Regions from separate parts of the Homo sapiens genome. Here regions 1, 2, 3 and 4 are each linked to region 5. The links are contacts of gene promoters, found by promoter capture Hi-C in blood cells and fetal thymus (Javierre and others, 2016). All regions are on one chromosome and are shown on one strand. Each heading gives the region's core, a stretch centred on a gene start or on the middle of the fragment in contact. The rest is flanking DNA. Distances are from core to core; before and after follow the strand shown. Region 1 overlaps NEK10 (NIMA related kinase 10). Region 2 overlaps NEK10 (NIMA related kinase 10). Region 3 overlaps NEK10 (NIMA related kinase 10). Region 4 overlaps NEK10 (NIMA related kinase 10). Region 5 holds the start of ZCWPW2 (zinc finger CW-type and PWWP domain containing 2).

The links. The method cuts DNA at HindIII sites, captures the fragments that hold promoters and counts their contacts. A CHiCAGO score of 5 or more calls a contact.
Region 1: a contact is called between a fragment that was not itself captured here and the fragment with the promoter of ZCWPW2 in region 5, in 8 of 17 cell types (total CD8 T cells, naive CD8 T cells, total CD4 T cells and 5 more). The highest score is 8.7, in total CD8 T cells.
Region 2: a fragment that was not itself captured here is called in contact with the fragment with the promoter of ZCWPW2 in region 5 in 1 of 17 cell types (total B cells); the score reaches 5.1 in total B cells.
Region 3: a fragment that was not itself captured here is called in contact with the fragment with the promoter of ZCWPW2 in region 5 in 1 of 17 cell types (naive CD8 T cells); the score reaches 6.2 in naive CD8 T cells.
Region 4: a contact is called between a fragment that was not itself captured here and the fragment with the promoter of ZCWPW2 in region 5, in 1 of 17 cell types (total B cells). The highest score is 6.9, in total B cells.

What each region holds. Positions count from the first base shown.
Region 1 is chr3:27,303,118-27,306,991 of GRCh38, forward strand. It overlaps NEK10 (NIMA related kinase 10), which reads right to left. Exons shown (of 36, transcript NM_001394966.1): 12 at 1,630-1,854. Among named protein-coding and RNA genes, the nearest start is that of NEK10, 64 kb to the right of the region's middle. The HindIII fragment of the contact is 4,760 bases long and covers 1-3,874 here.
Region 2 is chr3:27,128,067-27,132,327 of GRCh38, forward strand. It overlaps NEK10 (NIMA related kinase 10), which reads right to left. Exons shown (of 36, transcript NM_001394966.1): 32 at 3,814-3,924. Among named protein-coding and RNA genes, the nearest start is that of NEK10, 240 kb to the right of the region's middle. The HindIII fragment of the contact is 2,187 bases long and covers 489-2,675 here.
Region 3 is chr3:27,324,327-27,328,534 of GRCh38, forward strand. The region is part of intron 5 of NEK10 (NIMA related kinase 10); the gene reads right to left. Among named protein-coding and RNA genes, the nearest start is that of NEK10, 43 kb to the right of the region's middle. The HindIII fragment of the contact is 6,077 bases long and covers 1-4,208 here.
Region 4 is chr3:27,145,276-27,149,190 of GRCh38, forward strand. All of the region lies in intron 30 of NEK10 (NIMA related kinase 10), which reads right to left. Among named protein-coding and RNA genes, the nearest start is that of NEK10, 220 kb to the right of the region's middle. The HindIII fragment of the contact is 1,024 bases long and covers 1,981-3,004 here.
Region 5 is chr3:28,346,151-28,350,285 of GRCh38, forward strand. ZCWPW2 (zinc finger CW-type and PWWP domain containing 2) reads left to right here and starts at 2,571. Exons shown (of 10, transcript NM_001040432.4): 1 at 2,571-3,053. It overlaps AZI2 (5-azacytidine induced 2), which reads right to left and starts at 2,674. Exons shown (of 8, transcript NM_022461.5): 1 at 2,451-2,674. RefSeq lists enhancers at 2,541-2,600, 2,788-3,768, 2,868-3,162, 3,201-3,280. The HindIII fragment of the contact is 7,230 bases long and covers 1-4,135 here.

The DNA of each region.
Region 1 (3,874 bases), core at 382-2,881, 1.0 Mb before region 5:
GCACCAGTACATATTTAACATAGAATAAGAGTTAAAATATGTCATTGTCCTGGGGAAAAGTTTGCTAACATTGCACCATCAAAATGGACTGGAAAATGATACTTTAGATGTGAAAGACCTCTTTTTTACCAAGGATAGTTATGACTTCAGCAAAAGAAGAAAGCTAGATTCAATTCTATATGAGAAAAAGGCAGGTTTTGTCTTTGAAATTCTGCTTAACTATTACAGAATTTCATTTTATCCTTATGAAAATAGCTGTTCTCCAAGAGGGCAACCCATACCTATTATAATAGGTATGATTGTCCAATAATAAAGAATAACCACCACCATGATCATCATTACCATCGTCATCCTACAAACCTAAATAAAAAACCTTTGGCAATTGTAATTATTTTGACCAAGGGGCTGGCTTATTATGTCACAGCACTAATGAATGACTTATAATTTATACTATAAAGTAATTGATATTTTTATGTCACATTCATGAAGCAAGTGGGTTGTCAACAGTCTATAAATTTTTCCTTTGTTTAGGTAATGACAAATATTGTTAACAAAGCTACTGTTCATGTCTGTACAGTCTATTCTTATGCTTCTGAATGTTCCTTAAGAGAAAATGAAGTTGGTAACACACAGTTCTGCAATATCGCTGGAAGCATAACAAATACAAAGTCATAACAACATTGATTTGATAATATCTAGTTATATGAAAATTGATAAGTCCCTCTGCTTTTATTAGAATGAGCTTTATTTATGTACTGCAGATCATAAAGACGATCCAGTTCAAGGAGGCATACTCATTTTTAACTTTGGTTCAGCACCCATAGAACTGAATTATACTTTATAACAATATTAGGTAATAGAATCTTCCCATGGATGGTACCACAAGATATTATTATTAAATACTTCAATCTATTTAATTCAGAAAATACAGAAGTTAGTTTGCAACGTACTTCTAGAGAATTTCAATTGGGAACAAAACTATCCATTCTCCGTGCTCCTGACTTAGAATGTCACTGGAATTCTACTTTTAAAAGAGAGATAATGCCCACCTTAGAGGACCGTAATGAAGATTAGAGAGAAAAGTAGAGAACTGGACTAGAGTTAGTAACATGGCAACCACTTGATTAATGATATCATCTTTCAAAAACAAGGATTGTACACCTGCTCCTTTCATATAGGCTTTGTTTTCTCTTTATAGATAATAACATATGTGCACACACAAACATTTTAGGAAAATATTAGTAATCATTATACTTGGAATGACAAAATGCATATACTAATTCAAGGAAAAGGTGGCAAGACAAAGGTTTTTTTTAGGTTACTGGATTTCCATTCAGCCTTCATTATATTTGCAGATTGATGGCCTTCTACATTCCCAGCACTGTACTGGAGGTTGGTGATGCAAAGATAAATATATCTGGGTCCCCAAGGAATTTAAAAGATGAATGCCCCTGACATTGATTTAGAACATGCTTGTGACAAGTCTAGATGACTTTGGAAAGCATGAATTACCAAAGAAATCCCAAAGCAGGAGGGAATGAGGTGACACACACCAATCTGCCATCTTGTCACAGAGTCCCCAGACTTCAACAAACAGGGCAAAGTAGGCCAAAGCCCACTTTTACTCACCCTTGTAAAATATGAAGAAGCTGTTTGATGCCTCCCCAAATGCGAATTTCCACGCTGGTCTCAGGGTCCTCACAAACCTGTACCAGAATCCAGACAATGCTCCAGAGGAGCTTCAAGTGGTCAGAGTGGAGCAGACTGAGGAGGACCGGTATCCCCTCATAGAGCTTCACCTGCTCTTTCACCTGGGGCTCTGCACAAAGTAGGCGCAGCAACTCCGCTGTTAGTCTGAAAGGGGTACAGAGGGTGGGGTGAGAATCACAGCATCATGAGTTGATTACTTTACATTAAGACTAAAGCTATCATCAGTGCATGAAATATAACCCTAACATTTTGTAAGTCATGGGTCAATGTGCCATTTTCTGTAAGGAGCCCGATCAAAGCCAAACACTTTTAGCTTTACTAACTGTACAATCTGTGTCACAACTACTCAGCTATGCTGAGATAGCATGAAAGCAGCCATAGACAACATATAAAAATAAATTCGCATCCCTATGTTAAAATAAATCTTTATTTACAAAAATAAGCAGTGGAATAAACTTAGACTGTAGGTCATAGTTTGCAGACCACTGTTCTAAATTATAGGCTCGTTGCATCATCGTTGGTCTGATTAAAAACCTACTGACCAGCATTGGCAGGGCGTGGTGGTGTGTGCCTGTAATCCCAGCCACTTGGGAGGCTGAGGCAGAAGAATTGCTTGAACCCAGGAGGCAGAGGTTGCAGTGAGCCGAGGTCACTTGCCACTGCACTCCAGCCTGGGTGACAGAGCGAGACTCTGTTTAAAAAACAAAAACAAAAACAAAAAACAAACCTACTGACCAGCAAATAGGTATCAAGGACAAACAATGACATCTGCATTGTGCTAAAGACTAAAAAAAAAAAAAAAATAATAATAATAAAAGCCTTATTCTAGTCTTCAGAAACTTACTATGTAATTGCAAAATAAGACATTCTTAGAAAATGTCAAAAACACTACAATGCAGGTAAGTTAAGGGCAAAGCACTCAGTTACTATATACTCAGTGCAAAGTGCATTAAATTGATGGTAAAGACACAAGGTTCAGCTGTGCCATGAAATATTATGATGATAAACGTTTTATAGAATCATCCTTAGTCCTCCAGTTTCATACTCTAAACACTCCCCTCCTGGATGGTGTCATCCATTCCCATGATTTCAAACACTCTTTCAACCCTGTCATCATGATCTCAGCCCAGGCATTGCTCCTAACTTCCAGAAGTTTTAGCCACATGGATATTCCACAAGTACTCTCCATACTACCCCTAAACTCAAAGTCATTAGCCTCCTCCCCAGGTCTATTCTTCACCTTATATCCCCGATCTTGACTCATGGCACCACAATATTTTCAGTCTTCCAAGCCACAAGACTGGGAGTCATCAAGACACATACTCCTCTTTTCACACTCCTCCACTGTCAATCAAGAGCTCTTAGTGTTTTCTATTTCCTGGGCAACGTTGGGATTCTTTTGAACACCAGGCAGCTAGGTAACCCCACTGCTCCTCCCATCCTTGTAATCCTTTGTCATGCTCAAGATATAAATCCCTCTTTCATCTACCTCTCCAATATTCTCATTCTCATACGGCTTTCTCATTCCTTTCCCCTGAGCTGATTACCTATGGCTCCTCTCCCTCCCAAATTTTGTGCTCTGACATTAATAATAAATGTTCCTTGATAAATAGTATTCTTTACCTTCACGAACTTTCCCAGCCTCTCTTTGTTGTAAGTGGATCTCAATGTGTGGATATAAACAAACACCCCCACCTCACTCCCACATACACTGCTATCAAAGTGATCTTTCAAAAAACAAATTTGATCATGCTTAAAATGTTCCCATGAGTCCCCATAATGTTCATGATAAAATTCACATCGTTATTTATCAGAGACCATCATGACCTGGATAAAGGTGTCTTGTTGCCTTATCTATAAAATACGGGAAAAATAGGGTTAATGTGCAGATCACATGAGTTAATAAGCAAAGTGCTTAGAGCAGGTCTTGGCATATAGAAAACACTGATCAAAGTTAGCTACATTTTAAATTTATCATTAACTATCTGTTCTAGTTCTCTGGCACTTTTGTTCTTATGGTCCTGCTGTGCCCAACCATCACATTCCTCTAACACACCCAATTTCATGCCTCCATGTCCAAGCACATACTGTTTTTATGTTGTCTCTCTCTCTCTGCCTAGATATCTTCTCTTTCCTCCAGGAAACTTTGCATGACTCCACATTC
Region 2 (4,261 bases), core at 332-2,831, 1.2 Mb before region 5:
TCCCGTAAAGGATCAGATAGTAAATATTTTTGGCGTTCCAGGCCATATGGTCTCTGTAACTGCTATTCAACTTTGTCTGTAAACAAAAGCAGCCATAGACAGTATTAAGTGAACCTCTGCAGTTGCGTTCCAACAACACTTTATTTACAAACACAGGCATCAGAAATGATTGGCCTGAGGGCTGTAATTTGCTGACTTCTAATCTACAGCCTTAATCAGATGTAGATTCAAGCTTTTAGCAAGAATATTTCATAGACAGTGCTGTACACTCCCATCAGGTGGCATATAATGCCTGATTGTCCTTCTTGTGACATTAACGCCCATTGGTGATCATATCTAGGTGCTATCATTTAAACAGGGACTGCAAAACAGGAATATTCTTTATCCCTTTGGCACTTATTAGCTTAAGTACTTCTACAATAAGAAACTTTTCCTCTCAATGATTTTGTTAACATGCGATAGAATTCATAAAGGAAAGGCAGAATAAAAGCTTTCTTCTTTCCTATGTAAACAATTTTCAATATAATAAGCTGGTTACTTAGCATCTTCCAAAGGTAACCAATGAGGGATTTTTTTTTTTCTTTTTTGGTATTATGAACTCTTGGGTTTAAACCTTATTTAATGCTTTCAATTTATTATTCTTATTGATGTTCCAATTATCCCATAAATAGCCAGTGGGAGCCTCTTCAATTTGGCTCTTGAGAACTTTTGATATACTCTCAGTAGTCCTTGACACCATACTTACTATGCTATCTGTATGTCCAAATATTCCAGTCTAATCTTGTACAGTTCCTGCTCTAGACCAAAATCACCTATATCCCCAAGGAGTCATGGGTGGAGGAGCTCATTGCTGCTTGATTAGTTTCTCGACTATTTCAATGAAAATATTAGGAAATGTGTATATTTTTTAATAGATGAGATTTATCATGAACTCATATTCATTCACACTGATACTTCCAATTCCAATTTAGATGAATCTCTGCTATCTTGCTTCTGTTTCCCCTTTCCTCCATGCTGAAAATCCTAGTTCCCAAGGGTACCTATACAATTACTTGGTTGCTTTACTCCCCTCGCAATTCTAGCCAAGATTGAGCAGACTGGATTGAAGACTAACTTAGGTGAGGTATAAATAAAGAGCTTAATGTCTTAGAAAAGGCCTTTTGCACTTTTTGAATCTTCTGTATCCTTCTGGGTCTTAGGCTATTAGTAAGTAGGCACAGTCATCCCATAATGGCTCCTTCAAACTAGGGACACAGGGCCCGTGGGTTTTAGAAGTTTCAGTGAGAAAGGTAGAAATCAAGTGCATTTACGGGCTGTCACCACTTACTGCTCCTATGGCCCTGGTATGGGGTGACTGTGTCAGTCAAAGGCTAATTGGCCACTCCTCTATGGTTACACAGGGAATGAAAAATCCATTTATGAACAGAAGTTGTTGCTATCAAAAGATTATACCAGAAAAGGGGTAAAAATGGAGGTCACAAACTCTTCTCATTTAAGTTTAGATGAAGGCAGGAAAGTTACATATATGAATATATTTTATCAGTATACCAATAAAGAATGGAACAACTATATATTATACAGAATATATATTAATGTATTATATATCCTATCTCCAATTATTAAACATTAAGTACCTACCACATGCCAGGCACTGTGCAAGGCCCTGGGGAATCAAAGATAAATAAGACACACCCACCAACTTTGGGGGAAACAGAATGTAAGGTAGATAAAAAGCTATTTAAAACACAATAATACAGGTGAAAAAGTGGATTCACCCATAGAGAAAGGTAAGATTAATTCTGGACAGGGAAAATTAAGAAAGGTTTTTTTTTTTTGTCAGAGCTATTTTTTTCAGTTTGGTGGTAAAGAATAGGAAGTGTTTTAATATCCCAAGCTGAGGATTTCTTTAGCACCCAGGAGGCCTGCCTCTCTGACTAAGAGGATACACCCCCATGAAGGTATCATCCAACTTCATGGGGAGATGGCGCAAGCCTGAAGCTGCCTGTAGAGGAATGGAACCACACTTCTGTTGATCATGAGCCCTAAAGCAATATATAGGGCCTTTCCCTACCTAAAGGTCCATACAAGATGTCCCAAAGACCACCATGGGCTTGTAGTATCAGACAAGAGAACCATGGCAGTCTTTATAGGAGAGTATAATCTGCCTCTTAAACAAGTTAATAATAAGGATGAGTCTATTCCTGAGGGTTCTCTCACCCATGCTTCCCAAACATCTCCTACCACCCTACCAATTCCTGTTTTTATTTTCCCAGACGAGGTGTATCAGAAGGTAAATGCCCAATGAGAGATGCTGCCACAATACACAGGAAGGAAGACAAGGAGTGGGTGGGAGAATTTAACAAACAAAATCTTCTCTATCAGGAGAGGAAAGAAAGTGAGGAAGAGTTGCAACACCAAAAACATAAGTAATAAACGAGAAAATAAAGAGAAGCACTGATGGAAAATCACTCAGTGGGAGTTGAAGCCACCTTTATGTCTCAGACAGTTTGTAGCAGATGCTTTCATCTCATAAAACTAGGATTTCTGTTAAAATAAGTCTATGCTCAAACCAGATTATTCTGACCTTAATAAGAATATAAAATAAGAATAAGAGTTATATGACCTTAATAAGAATAAAAAACCAAGCAACATATTATCTTTTCATGGGAGATTTAAGCTTTTATCTTTTAAAAATGTGTTTATTATGATACAATATATAAATATCATAAGATAAATATCTGAAGCCTCTTCTACTGCTTTGATCTCCTTCAGCTTTGTTTCTTGGCCCTATTTGCCAACACAACCCAGGAAAGAAACCTTGCTCTCTAATCTCTGATGGAGCAGGCTTTATGTTTTGTTTACCTGCAGCTGTGTCTTTTTCCCCCATCTGTTTTTGGTGTATGTGCAGATACCAGTGATGTGAAACAACAAAGCTAAAGAATGTTGTTTGCATTTCTTATCAAAGAGCCTATCATATTTTCTAAATAATGAGTAAGTTAATGCTGAAGCTTTGATGCATTAAAGGAACGTGAAACCTTAAAGGAAAAGTTCACTGGCAGCATGACTATGCTACCCATTTAAAAATATGATGAAACTTTTTAAAAAATATGAAATTGGAGTGCTACCAATTGTCTTTACCTAGGTGGGCCTGAATTGCTTGTACCTTGGGCCTTTCAGGGGAGCTTATGGCCACTTCCAGGGCTGTATCGAAAGGTCTACCAACCAGGACAAAGGGATTTTCCAATATCAAGTTTTGTTAACCAGAGGTAAACAATTTTCTTTCTGCCCAGTTGATTTAGTATTTTTGTAGTTTAGTTGCTATATGTATGGACAGAAATGTCTGCTAGTATCTAAGGTCTAGAAGATTGTAGACTATCTAAGATGGAAAGAACCTTAGAAATAGTTCAGTCAGCTTTCATAGATAATAAAAAATCAATGGCCCCAGATGGTTAAATGACTTCTTCAGAGTGACAAATCTCAATTTTGGAGCTTATTGAAGATTATTCTAATAAAATATCAGAATATAATTCTCTAGAAGAGGCTAAAATATACACATTTCAAATTAAATATTACTTTTTCTTAGGAAAACATACAAAAATACTGAAAAAGCTATCCATTTGTTATCTAAAAATAAGGGCCACGGAAATAGAGAAAATCAGAAGCAAAGACATATCCTCAATTTAGTATGTAAAGCAGCAATAAGAAACTTTAATAGAGGATAGAGCTTAAAGTACGAAGTAAAGGAGGTATAAAATGTACCTCTTATGATGTGGTTTTGTCAGCAAAAGAATTCCTATATATAGAATACCATACCTTTTTAATTTCAGATTTCAAATTACAAGGGTTACTCTGCTGGCTGAAGAGGGATTTCTTGAATCTCTCTATAACCCTTCTTTTCAAATTGTGGTGCAAAGCTGGAGGAAGCTGCATAAAATAAGAAAACAATCATTATAAACAAATTGTTAACACTACACAGCTGACTACAAAAAGCATTCGCTGAGGGCCCATGTAACAATATTCACTCAATAGGACTATGTAAGAATTTAAATTTTACTGCAAATAGCATGACTAGATGCTATAATTTTTACCCTGCGATTCAGAAGGAATATATTATTTTGCTCTTTTTCAAATGGCTGCTTCCATTTATCTTATTGTTTCTTCATTGATTGATATTATTTTTCATTTAACAAATTATTCATTAATTGCACACATATACTGAATTTTGTGAAGAACAGTCTTGACACAGAATGGTGCACTTTTA
Region 3 (4,208 bases), core at 1,696-4,195, 1.0 Mb before region 5:
CCAAAGAGTTGGAGCAACAGAGCCCAGACTGAAACTAGAACCCATGGCTTCCTGAATCTCAGTTTGATAGTCAGCATGTCTGAAATTGACTTCATGAACTCCCCCTCAAGCCTGATCCTTCCAGTCATCTAGGTAACCAGACAGAAACCCTTGGTGTTTTTCTTGCCTCCTCTATTTCCCTCACATTCTTTGCCAATTCCTCAGCAAATCCTGTCTGCTCTACCTTTAAAATATCTGCCTCCACAACCTATCCACTTCTCACTATTTCCTCCACCACCACCCAGGATCAAGCCACCACCATCTTTTGCTTGAGCCATTGCAAAAGCCTCCTATCTGGCATCTTTGCTTCCAGCTTTGCCCCTTCCTTTACTCTCTCACATCTGCCAAGATGATTCTTTACAAACACAAGTCCATTCACGTCACTCCTCAGCCCAAATCCTCCAACAGACCCCATCTCGTTCAGAATAAAAACCAAAGTCCATACCATGACTCATAGGCCCTCCAGGGCCTGGCCTCCCCATTACACCTCTGGCCTCATGTCTTTCCACTGCCCCTTGTTCACTCCCTCCCAGTCATGCTGACCTTCTCATTACATGGCTGGGCCAAGGTCCAGTGCCTAAGGTGCTTCCCATGAAAGCCTTTTGTGGCTTTTCAACACTGGAACCTCATAAAGAATTTGAAAGATGTTCTCCATGATATGAGGCCAGTCACCTGCAGTTGTTCTAACCACAGTGTATGTTGTGCAGAAGTGGCCAACACAGCACAGACTGAACTCCTGAGGTGAGAAAGAGAGGCTGAGTGCTGCCATGCACTGGAACTTGGAAACAGAAGGTGGTCCTGGCCAGGTGACACTTGCTCACACTGCCCTTCAAGCTAGTTCCATAGTGGTGCTTGGTGCACACGTTAACAAAAGCCTAAAACACAAAGCATCTTCTATTTCATACTCAGCCAAGAAAAAGCGAGGGAGATAATGGAAGCTATTCTAGACTAGAATCTATATAATTTCTCCCACATCTCCCACCTCCACAGCTGAGCTGATTGTGTATCCAGCAAGAATAAAGATCTGCCCCCTTGTCAAACACAGCAATTACTTGAGTTGTGGACCCAAGCCACTCATTGCCTGGCCTGTCCCACACTGATCCTCTGCCTCTGGGTACAGTTCATCTCTGTCTCCTCTATGATCCTGAGAAATTCAACTCTGCCCCCAAACCAGCACGTCTCAAACCTGAGTGAATGAGAACCATCTTCCTCAAAGTTAGGATGAACATTTGTAGTGACTGCCACTAGAGGTGCTACTCCCCACCCCACCCCACTCACACTCCACCCCAAGCCACTCACCATTCCTTCCATCTACAAAGACTGACTTCATGGGAAGGAGGTTGATAGGTAAGCTCTTCCCAAAGTCTTATACTCCTGAGTGCTCATTATAGATTACAGTCCCCCAACAAGGCCTGGCTCTGTGGAGAGATGTTGAGTAAGATGTCCAAAGAATATCACTGGCTGAGGATTACTCTTCCTCCCATCACCAAGACTCTTGGCAGCTATGCTGCCCACCACAGTTGCCATCAACACCTTGGCCCCTCCTCTGGCCCAAGCACCCTGTCAGTGACCCCTTTTTGCCAAGGGGACAAAGCCCAGTTTCCTCTGAAAATAGAGTCAGGATTCAACCAATCCCAAAACTGCCAGCCAGGCAGAATTATCCAAGGCCACATCCAGGATGTACTATGGGTTCATCCTGACTTCAGATCAGACATACCCTGCATTGGGAAAAATAAACCAAATTTGAAATACATTTTGAACTCAAAATGATCATCTATGGGGGCACTTACTAAAAATATGGTTATTCTAAAGCTCCTAATACAGAGAGGATATCTTTAATCTTTATAATTAGGAAGAGGGCACATGACAAGTTTCTCTTTCAGGTGCTGGGTTAGCTAAAGGCAGCATGTAGCCTGAATTATAGGGCAAAGATACTACATCCCAAAGATCTAACAGAAGTAATGATCAGGTTGCAACAGCTGCTAGCAACCTAGTGATGTTGAATGCTAATTACTTTTCATTATTTAAAGGAAAAGCCATGGGGCATTTTAAGAGATGATTCACGCTACAAATATGTGTACAGTTGGTATTTTTTACTGTTAGCCATATACAATCATCATGAGGAAATTTCATGACTTTTCCAGTGATTTTTCATATTAATATAAATATAAAAAGTTTGTTTCCTTCCCACCTCCCAGGAAAAAGAAAAGAACAAAAATTCCAGAATAGTTTTTTTTAACTAATAAAGAAGTGTATATAAATGAAGAGTTCCAGAAAAATCTCAGAGTTGAAATTTCTGTTCCAACCAAATGGAATTTTTGTTTTGTTTTGTTTTGCAATTTGGGAACTGAAGCCCAAAGCTATTAATATTTCTACGCGGCCTCTGCTGCTGTAAATGTAAATAGAATTCCTGGTGTCTGAGTCCTCTGGCTTCTCATCTCTTTGCGCTGACCTCTGAAAGAGCAGTTGTTCCTTCCTTGGCTCTCAGCCCTTAACCCACTGCAAGGACGGAGCACATGGGATGAAGTGCTGGTGTTCAAGGAGAATTGCATGCTCTTCAAGACTATACACACATATACACATATATACATACATCTGTTTGCCACCAGCTGAGGGACTAGGAAACACACAGCTTAGTGCAACTGGAGAATTACAGTGAATAATAGTGACAGATTGTAAAGACAGGCACCTTTATTTTACTGACTCAGCAATTGTGGCCTGGAGGAGCTGAGTGTCTGGCCCACAGCTACACAATAAGTAATAGAGCCAGGTGCCAGACTCCCATTCCAGTGCTCTTGCCATCCCTCCCCTCCACCTAAGTCTATACAGGGATGGCTGAAGAGAAAGTGACTCTGCAGATATGTTTAATATGGGAACAGTAGCATTCAGCAGAGTGGCATGGGGGCAGCCCTGAGAAACCTGTCTGCAAAGATAGTATTTCTCTAGAGGCCATGTCTCAATATAGCAGCCACACAGAAGCAAATTCATGAGCGGGCAAATATTTGTCCCCTCTTATGACTGAACTTATGCCACTGTTTTCACAGGACTATTAATACATGGCAGCGTGATCAGCTCCTGCCACCCCTGTCCGTGACCACCTGCCATTCTGCTGTCAGCATCAGGTGCCATCTTCTGCCATCAATATAAAATGAAGGAAAAGCACCGGAGACACATTATTTGAAAAGGGAAAGAGTAGCCAGGGTTTCAACTTCTTACACAGTAAGAGAAACAAATATGTGATGTGAGGGTTCCAAGTAAAAAGTCAGTCCACGAAGCTGTGCTATTATAATGAAGCAGGGTTAACTGAACCCAGGAACTGATGCAAATGGCAGAAGTGACAATGTTGACTGTATTTGTAGCACACTCTGTCTTTTTCATGTCACAGCCCTTTTCATGTTGTAGTAGTTTTCATTAACCACAAGACAAACCAAAACAACCTGCCATCTTTGACTCATTAAAAACAGAGGAATTCAAGCCTATTTCAAAACACATATCACCTCAAATTCATAAGACAGAGTCCAATTTTTTTGGATAGCTGAAAAAGTAAAATTCACATCTATGCAAAACTTAAAAAAAAAAAAACAAGAATATATGTGAAGAAATTCATCCTAAATGATTATTTAGGGAATTCTCACTGACTTATTTTGCTATTCTTAACAGGTCTTTGTTCTTTCTCTGTGTCCCCTACTAAATCTAGCATGAAATGTACACCCAATCAGAAACCCATCAAATGGATCATGTTGGCCCCTAAAATCAGGATATAAATGCATTCTTAGAGGTATTTCTTCTACATAATTAATGAAAATTTCAGAATATTTTCAAATATTTAGTATATACTCATCACCTGTGATCAGCCAAGTACTGTTATAAGCCCAGGAGTACAGCAGAGGAAAAACCCATGCACTTGTACTCATGGAGCTTACATTCTGATCACAAAAACAAATAAAAATGCATATCAGGTGGTGGCCAGTGGAGAATAATCAAGGTTAAGGATTTAATGAGTACTGGGCATGCTATTTTAGGACAGTCACAGAACAGTTCTTTGATAAGATTAGCATCTGAGTTATTTGAGGGATTGATCCATATGGATGTCTAGGTCAGAACAGCAGAGTAGTTAAATACATAGTCCCTGAGGCAGGAATACTGTAAACTGCAAAGAATAGCAAGGA
Region 4 (3,915 bases), core at 1,243-3,742, 1.2 Mb before region 5:
TCATATCTATGTGGTATTTCCTACTGCAAAATATATACACAATATTTGGTCTCCTTAAAATTTAAATAAAATCAAAGTTTAAAATATTGGGATACTTTGTATTCTTTTATAGTTTTTATTAAAATAGTAAATTTGGCTAGTGTTTTAAAACTTAGAAGGAAACTACGAAATTTCTTATAAGAGGCAATTTACTTAAAAGCGTCAAAAAGTCATTACATAATTATATTTGCTAGCTTACTCTGTTGCAAGCATGACGCTAAAGAGCTATTTTGTTTCCCCTTTGCAGTGTTAGGTCAGAGGACTTGCAAGAAGAGCAGTCCTTCTTTTTTAGCAAGAACTTGGGTGAGAAACTGGGAGGTGTTTTACACATTTAGTCTGCTTTAATCCACAGAGGAGACTAAATGCATAAAACACCTCCCAGTGCCTGTAAACTGTCTGCTCCTTTATTGGTGTAGATTCTACCCCCATTTTACAGATGAGGAGACTGAGTGCTGTGGTCTAAATGCTTCTGAACCACCAAAATTCACAGGTTGAAATCCTAATCCCCAAGGCAATGGCATTTGGAGGAAGTGAGCTTGGGAGGTGATTAGGTCCTAAGGGCGGAGGCCTCATGAATGGAATCAGTGCCATTATAAAAGAGGCCAGAGGGAGGTGGTCACCCCCTTCTACCATGCAAGGACACAGCTAGAAGGCGCCTCTGGTTACTGCAAATACAAAACAATATCTCCTTCCCATAATGAAATATTATTTCTCTTCTTAAAAGGACTGCTACTTTTAACACGATGTTCTATCTATCTCTCTCAACATTTAATTAATTATTTTTGGAAAGCATGTAGACATAATAAGCTGGAAGCATTAGGTCTTTACAGCTAGTGCTGTGCACTACATTCTGCTTTAGTATATCATTGCATAATAAAATAGCCAAGTTAGTTGCCCATCCCTGGTGCTTTGACACTTGACACTTGACACATACTATATGTCCATTCTATTGAAACTATAATTCACAATATACACTTTGAAGCTGTTAATAACTACAAATTAAACCCAAAAAAGTGGGTTACACTGTACTCTCCCAATTGATCAAAATATGGTATCAATGCATTATTTTTCTGAATTCTCTCAGCTAAGGATCAGGAACTTTTGGACAACTGGAGAAAAAAAGGGTTAAGGAAGGAAATCCATGAAGAAGCAAAAAATATATTGTTTTCATGAATGGGGGGCCAAAACACACATGAGCTTCTCTATATTGGACCAACAGTGTTGTCAAACTACAATACAAATTTACTCTCACCTCTTTACTATCATAACAATGAAATAAAGTAACGTAATTGTAGTTCAAATCTGTAAGTGTTCAGCAATCAATCCCTGTGTCCCTGGTTAGATGAAGAATCTTGAACTCATAAGGATTTCATAGAAGGTTCACCCAGACAACCATGGATGTAGGCTAAAGAGCAAATTCAAATGTTAATTTGAGAAGACCAGGAAGAATTAGAAGGTCTTCGATAGCACAGGAAATGTATTGGGTGTGAGGGAAGTTGTATGTGAGTGTGGGTTCTTAGGAGAAGGAATAATTCCAGCAAAGAGTGAAGTCAGCTAAGTGAGGGCTGCAACTGAAGAACAGCAAACTGTTCAGTTTAGCTGGTGTGCAGTACAATAAAAAAAGTACAGTATGTATACAGCTGGAGAGGTAGCCAGGGACCATACACGATGGTGAGAAACAATAAGGCTGACTGTATTTCAGGAAAGGTGATCTCACGGGAAGAGGATCATACAGTTGAAGTCAGAGGCCTGGCTTGCATTGCAATATGGTTTTCAGAAAGTCACAACTTCTTTGGGCCTTAGTTTCTTCATATGAAATGGCAGAATGGTAAAAATGGGACTAGAACCAAGGGGGCTGAGGTCATACACGTTGTGGGGTGAATCAATCTACAGTGCACTGTAGCTGTTTCCACATGGGGAGCAGGAGCCAAGGACTGCTGAAGCTTGGGACTGAGACACTGAGAATATGATGTTCCATCAGAAGAGAGAGGGAAGTGACAGAGGATATGATGCATGGACAATGGAAACTTCCCAACACAGACCAGTAGACCATTCTATAATCAGACAAAAAGTGTTTGGAAGGAGCTTGGCAGTCTAGGCCTAGATGCCCCTGCTACCCTAGCCTCCGGCAGAGTTTCTCACAGAATGGCAGGAAGCTGAGTCAAAGCATCAGCTCCTTTCACCTCTGGGTGATCAGGCAACAAACTTCCTTTCATTTGAAACTTCAGGAATAAGCTGTTTAAAGGCCAGAGGCAAGGCTGCTTTGAAGTCCTTAACTCTTGAATTCTGGCTGAGCCTCTTTTAAGTAATGTGTCTTATATTCCCATAATGGGTAATGTCACAGTATATTTAACTAACAATCTACACCAATAAAGGAGCAGACAGTTTACAGGCCTGTAGCGTTAGAGGTTAACCTGCAGAAATTAATATACTGGTATGATTTTACACCCAGTCAAGAACTTGATCACAAAAATGGTATCATTTTATTGCCCTATAGAAGTTCTACCAGTCTTACGCTTAATTTAGCAATCTTATGTCAGCCCTTCTTTCTTGCCTAACTACATAAATCTCTGTTCTTCAAATGCTCTTGAATCAGCATTTTTGTCTTCCACCTGGTTCTATCATCAATGCATTGAATAAAACTCAGACACTTGCCAAAGAACAACTTTAAGAATTGTGCTTTTGCACCCCAATATAAAAAATAATAAGTAGTTATATAAACAGAAAAATTTTTAATTGACACACTATATGAAACATCCCAAATAAATTATTGAATCCATACTGAGCAGAGTCAATTAAGAATGAACAAGGTTCCAGCTATAGTGGAGGGCAGGCAGGTATCCCAGAGAGAAGAAAGAGGCCTCTTGCTTTCAGGAGAGGGAACTGCTGTAGCAACCATTATAGAATGGTTTGGACACAGCCTTAGTTGTATCAACATTTTTCTTGAAGAAAGGGAATTAATAGAAGCTTAATGACTGATTCAATGATTAATACTCCCTTATGGTTTAAATGTACTCTGAGATCCTTAAAAAAACTACTCCCCAGACAGGAGCCAACACATGGATAGATTCTTAGCTACTGGTGCTTACATTTCTACACAGGAATAATTTGATTAGATGTCCATATGTATGTCCAAAATGGTATGGCTCATGTGCAACAGACTCCACATGAACCTAAGGTCTTTGATATCCAGGTTTCTTCTTCTTATAATTGGCCCTTCTGTCACTGTCCTCAATTCTCAAATTGGTCAATGCAACAAACTAATTCAAAGCATATTTGTAAATACTTTTAACATATTTTTAAAATCCACTATAAATTACTAATAATGGCAATTTGGAATTTGAGGGTGATGCTTTTCGCTGTTAATTCAATTATTTTACACACCATGCTACAATCATCACCCAAGTCATGCTGACCTACCTCCCTTTACTCCTACCAGAGAGTGGGATACCTTTCAACCCTTACTTCCTTTAGCCTTTCCTCCCAGGCAGAAACCCAAATGGCATGAGTGTGAGTTGCCATTTAACAGGTGATATGCAATTTGGATTTAGGCTTGAATTGGAACCACCAGTAACTCTTGTGAGATGAGTATCCATTTGAAAACACATTACCCTAAAATGACCATGAAAAAAATCTACATCTCCAAGAAGCATCCTCCTGGGACCCTGTACACAGTCGTTTGGCACCTCCCTTGGCATGAAGAATGAGGAAGCAAATAATCATTGGTAAAGGAAATTTCTTATCTCAATCTGAAATCTAAAATATATATGTATATATTTTAATATAATAAAATAAATTTAATAAAAATAAAATATTTTAAAAGTCTAATACAAAAAAATCAGTGATTCCCTCACTGCTTCTGATTACTTATGCAGT
Region 5 (4,135 bases), core at 1,321-3,820:
CTAAGAATATGGACAAGGCATAACTATGTCAAAAAGAACACTTTCCCAGGATTCAGAAACACAGATTCTAGTCTAGGATTTGCAACCCTGATTATAGTTTAGTTCGCTTTACCTCTCTAGATCAAAATTTTCCCACCTATACAGAATGATAGGGTTAGACTACATCACTAAGATGCCACCTTACTAAACTGTGAAGGCAAAAGTTTAATACAAATACAGAACAATGGCAACCTAAACAGAGAGAAGGGAATTCACATTTATGCCAGGAACTGCATAAAAGGTATGGTACACACATTATCTCAAGTCCACACCAAACTTGGCAAGAAAGGTATTAGCACCATGATAAATGGGGAAATTGAGGCTCAAAGAGGTGAGGTAAATTCACCTCACCACAGCAGTATGTGACAAAACTGAAGTTTGAATCAAGGCCTATATGGTAGGCTCTTTATTCCATATTGCCTCCTGAAGTAAATCATATTTAGAATTTTCACCACCTTTCTACCTCTGAAAAGTTAGGATATTCCCGAACCTATTTCGTACAATCAGTCAAAATACTATGGAGCAAGGATTAAGTCTTACGAAGACGAACAGACCAATGCTTATTCCCCTTTCTCAATTTGTAAAATAGCCTAACTAGTTTATAAAGAAGGGTCATCAAGTACCTCTTTTCAAAACATCATCTCTTAATCTGTGTACATTAGCAATAAAAAGCCCTGTAATTCAATAAATGTCCAAAAATGTACTCAACATTAGATATACAATATGAAGAAAAACTCCAGTTCCATTTTTATGACTCTTGAGTTATCCAACAAACTGCGTTAGTCCAGAAATCAGTTTGTATTGCACAGATCAAGACTCTTCCAGAGTTAGCATAGGTATGAAGAGCAGTCTACTTCTTTTCATCCCTTTCATACAGTAATACCTCTAATGCAACTAAGCATCTACTATACATTCAATGTTACTGGTGTTATTGAAAATTATTTTCTAACAGTGATAAGGCAACTATACTTGCACTCTGAATATAAGTGCCATAAAAAAGAAAAAGATTGGTTCTATTACTTCATGGATTATAAAAAAAACTTCAGCATTTTACTTAATAATAATGACAAGGTTCTGCATTGGTAATTAATAGTAGCCAAGCGTTTATGGTATACCAAGCAGTGTGCTTCACCTTTTGGAGAAACTATCTCATTTGTTCTTCATAAGCATTCAGTAAATCTATGTAATACCTCTGAGGTTGTAAAGAATCTCCTCAGATTACAGGTGGAGAAATTGAGACATGAAAACATTAGAAAGTAGGGGAGCCAGAAATGAAAATCAGGCAGCTGACTCCAGAGCCAGCATAACTCTTAGAAACTATGCTTTGGTGCCTTAGAGTATGTATTACACCCATTTCAGAGATAAGGAAAATGAAGAAAAAGTTTAGCCTCTTACCCATTGTCAAGTAAATGGAAAAATCAGCATTCAGATACTGGTGTTCTGACCTAATCCAGTGTCATTTCCCATTATGTTATGCTGTCTCTTTAATATTAAAACCTTCTACTTGCGTAAGATGTCTGGCTTACAAACAATATCACATTAAAATTTGGAAATATCCTGTAAAGGATGCACTGTTCTCAATTTACAGATGATGAAATGATCACAAGATTGGGCAATGAGATATGGCGTTTTTAGAGAAATGAAATTCTGCCTTGAGATCTTGCTCAATCCAATTTGAAATTCCAATCTAAAAACCAAAATGTCTTCTACACATAAGGCGCAAGGGTCAATTTTAATTCTGGTACGTCTGTCTTTGATCACCTTAGCAAATTTCCATCACCTCTTGGAGCAACTGATGGTTTGATTTGTACTAGAGTTTTCGTGGGTATTTTATCTCGCTTTCGAGTATTGGGGTTTCTTTTGTGTAGAGGGTGTCAGCCTACCTTGCACGTAGTAGTAGTTACTCAACAAACAGCCGAAGGCTGGAATGAATACCGTATACAGGTTAGACATTGGAGAAACGACGAATACCTGTTAGCCCTCGATCAAGTGCAGGGGGTCGATATTCACCACTCAGATGCCCCAGGGAGTACCGTCCTAGCCAATGTCCCTCTTTTCTTTCCGATAATTTGTATCGGAAAGAAGCATTTAGCAGTCTCAATGAATGAAAAAAAACTGAAGGCGCCCCAGTAAGAGTACGAAAAGAAAAGGAGTAATTAGAGAAGTGAATGACCAAGAAGGGCCTGGACAGCTGGGGGTGAGGGTGACAGGGGAAAGGGTGTGGACAGCTGGGTGTGGGGGTGACTGGGGAAAGGGATGCCCAGGAGTGGGCCGCTCCCTAGTCAAAGGAGGGGGCGCGGGAGGGAGTGAGAAAAAAATGACGTGTCTTTTTGGACCGGCAACAGCTACGGAGGTTGGCCGCGGCATTGCCCGCATCCCTATCCTCCACCCGTCCCTGGCGAGTCACTCACCCAGAAGCCAGGCTACGTAGGGCCGCCCCCAAGGCCGCCGAGTTTCGATTCCTTAGTGTTTGGAAACGGACCGAAAACAAACCGGGTCGCCAGGGGTCACCACGGGCTTCCGGTTTCTTCGAAGACACCGCCGCTTCCACAGCGAAGGGAGCTGCTCCGGGCACGTCGCGGAGGGAGTCCCATTTCTTCTGACTCGGCAGGAGCCCGGGACGTTCTGGAAGGAGGGACGAGCCGAGGCAGGAGGGGCCGGGCCGACGCGAGAGAAGGCCCGTTACCCAGCAATACGCGCGCGAGACCCAGGCCCGCCGTCGGGACCAGCACGGGCCGGAGGGAGGGGAAGCACTCCGGAAAGTGATTGGAAGTGTGGATGAGCTCTCAGCCGGAAAAGGGGCTGCCGCTGTCCGCGGGCTCGGCGCCAGGGACGCGCGAGGAAACCGGAAGTCAGGCCCGAGGGAGCTGGGAGGGCGTTAGCGAAGCCAGGTTCGGTCGTGGGGGTGGGGAAGTGCAGGAGTGGCGCGCGGCGTACTACATGTCCCGTGAGCCTCCGCGGCGGGACGGGGCGGGGCCGCGGGACGCCAGGAGGCGGAGGCGGAGTGGAGTTAGGTAAGAGCGTTACCAGCCGTCTTGTCTGTTGGGCCGAGGTCCCCCTTCAGGGGCGCCCTCTGGTGCGTCTTTTTCACTCAGTGTCCTTTTGGGGGGTCCCCGGGCCGTGTGGTGCGTGCTGGCTCGGCTCAGTAGCGCTGTTACAGGCTTACGAGCTGACGTGGCTGGGAACTGGGAAGTCTGTTAGAAGCCGTTCCTCTGTAGCCTCTGTTTTCTAAACTACTTGCAAGCCCTCAGGCGATCACTTGAGGCACAAGCTCGACGAATTGCGTAGGGGTCTGTAATTATTCACAAACGACACCACGACTTCTAGCACACTGCTCAATTTATGGAATGAGAGACAGGGAGAAGATGCCAGAGTACTGGAGTTGCGCCCGGCTTCCCTGGAGTTGCCACCACCTTGGTTATTTCTAGATGATAGACCGTCCCTAGCTGTGGAGTCACAAGTAGTTGAATTAATTAGTCATTGAAGGTCGCAGCCAGGTGGAACCCCTGTAACTCTAAGGTATTATTGGTTAAATAAACAAATAAACAAGGAACAATAATTATAGAAAATTTAACGTCACTAACCGCCGATTAGCAATACGGACATTACTCACCACCCCCTTAAAGTAGTATTTTGTCATCTGTCCGCTTAACTATCAGCCCAACTGTCAGCCCAATAGGATGGATTTCACTCAAGGGTTTATATGAAAATTCGTTTTTATTGTTGTTGGTTTTTTTATTGTCTTTTTTGGTTTAGATTTAAGTGAAAATTTATAGCTGTTAGGAACAAAGACCACAAGTTGAAGTTTTATGACATTTCTAAAAATACTTAGAAATCTGTGTTAATGTTATCGTTGAGAAAGGAAACGATTTGCTTCAATTTACTGGGCTGGAGAATGGAAGAGAGCAGTGTTTTTAATATTTTGAGCAAGTATCAGTCCTTAAATTTTTTTATTGCTTCCATGATGCATTTTGAGAATTTTCAATTTAAAACAACCATTAGGTGTATGTTTTTACAAGTAGAGTTTTGAAGAATGCTAGCAAAATTGGTTGAGGCATCACAAGTTATTAGAAATAAAGTGGTAACCTGGTTTTTA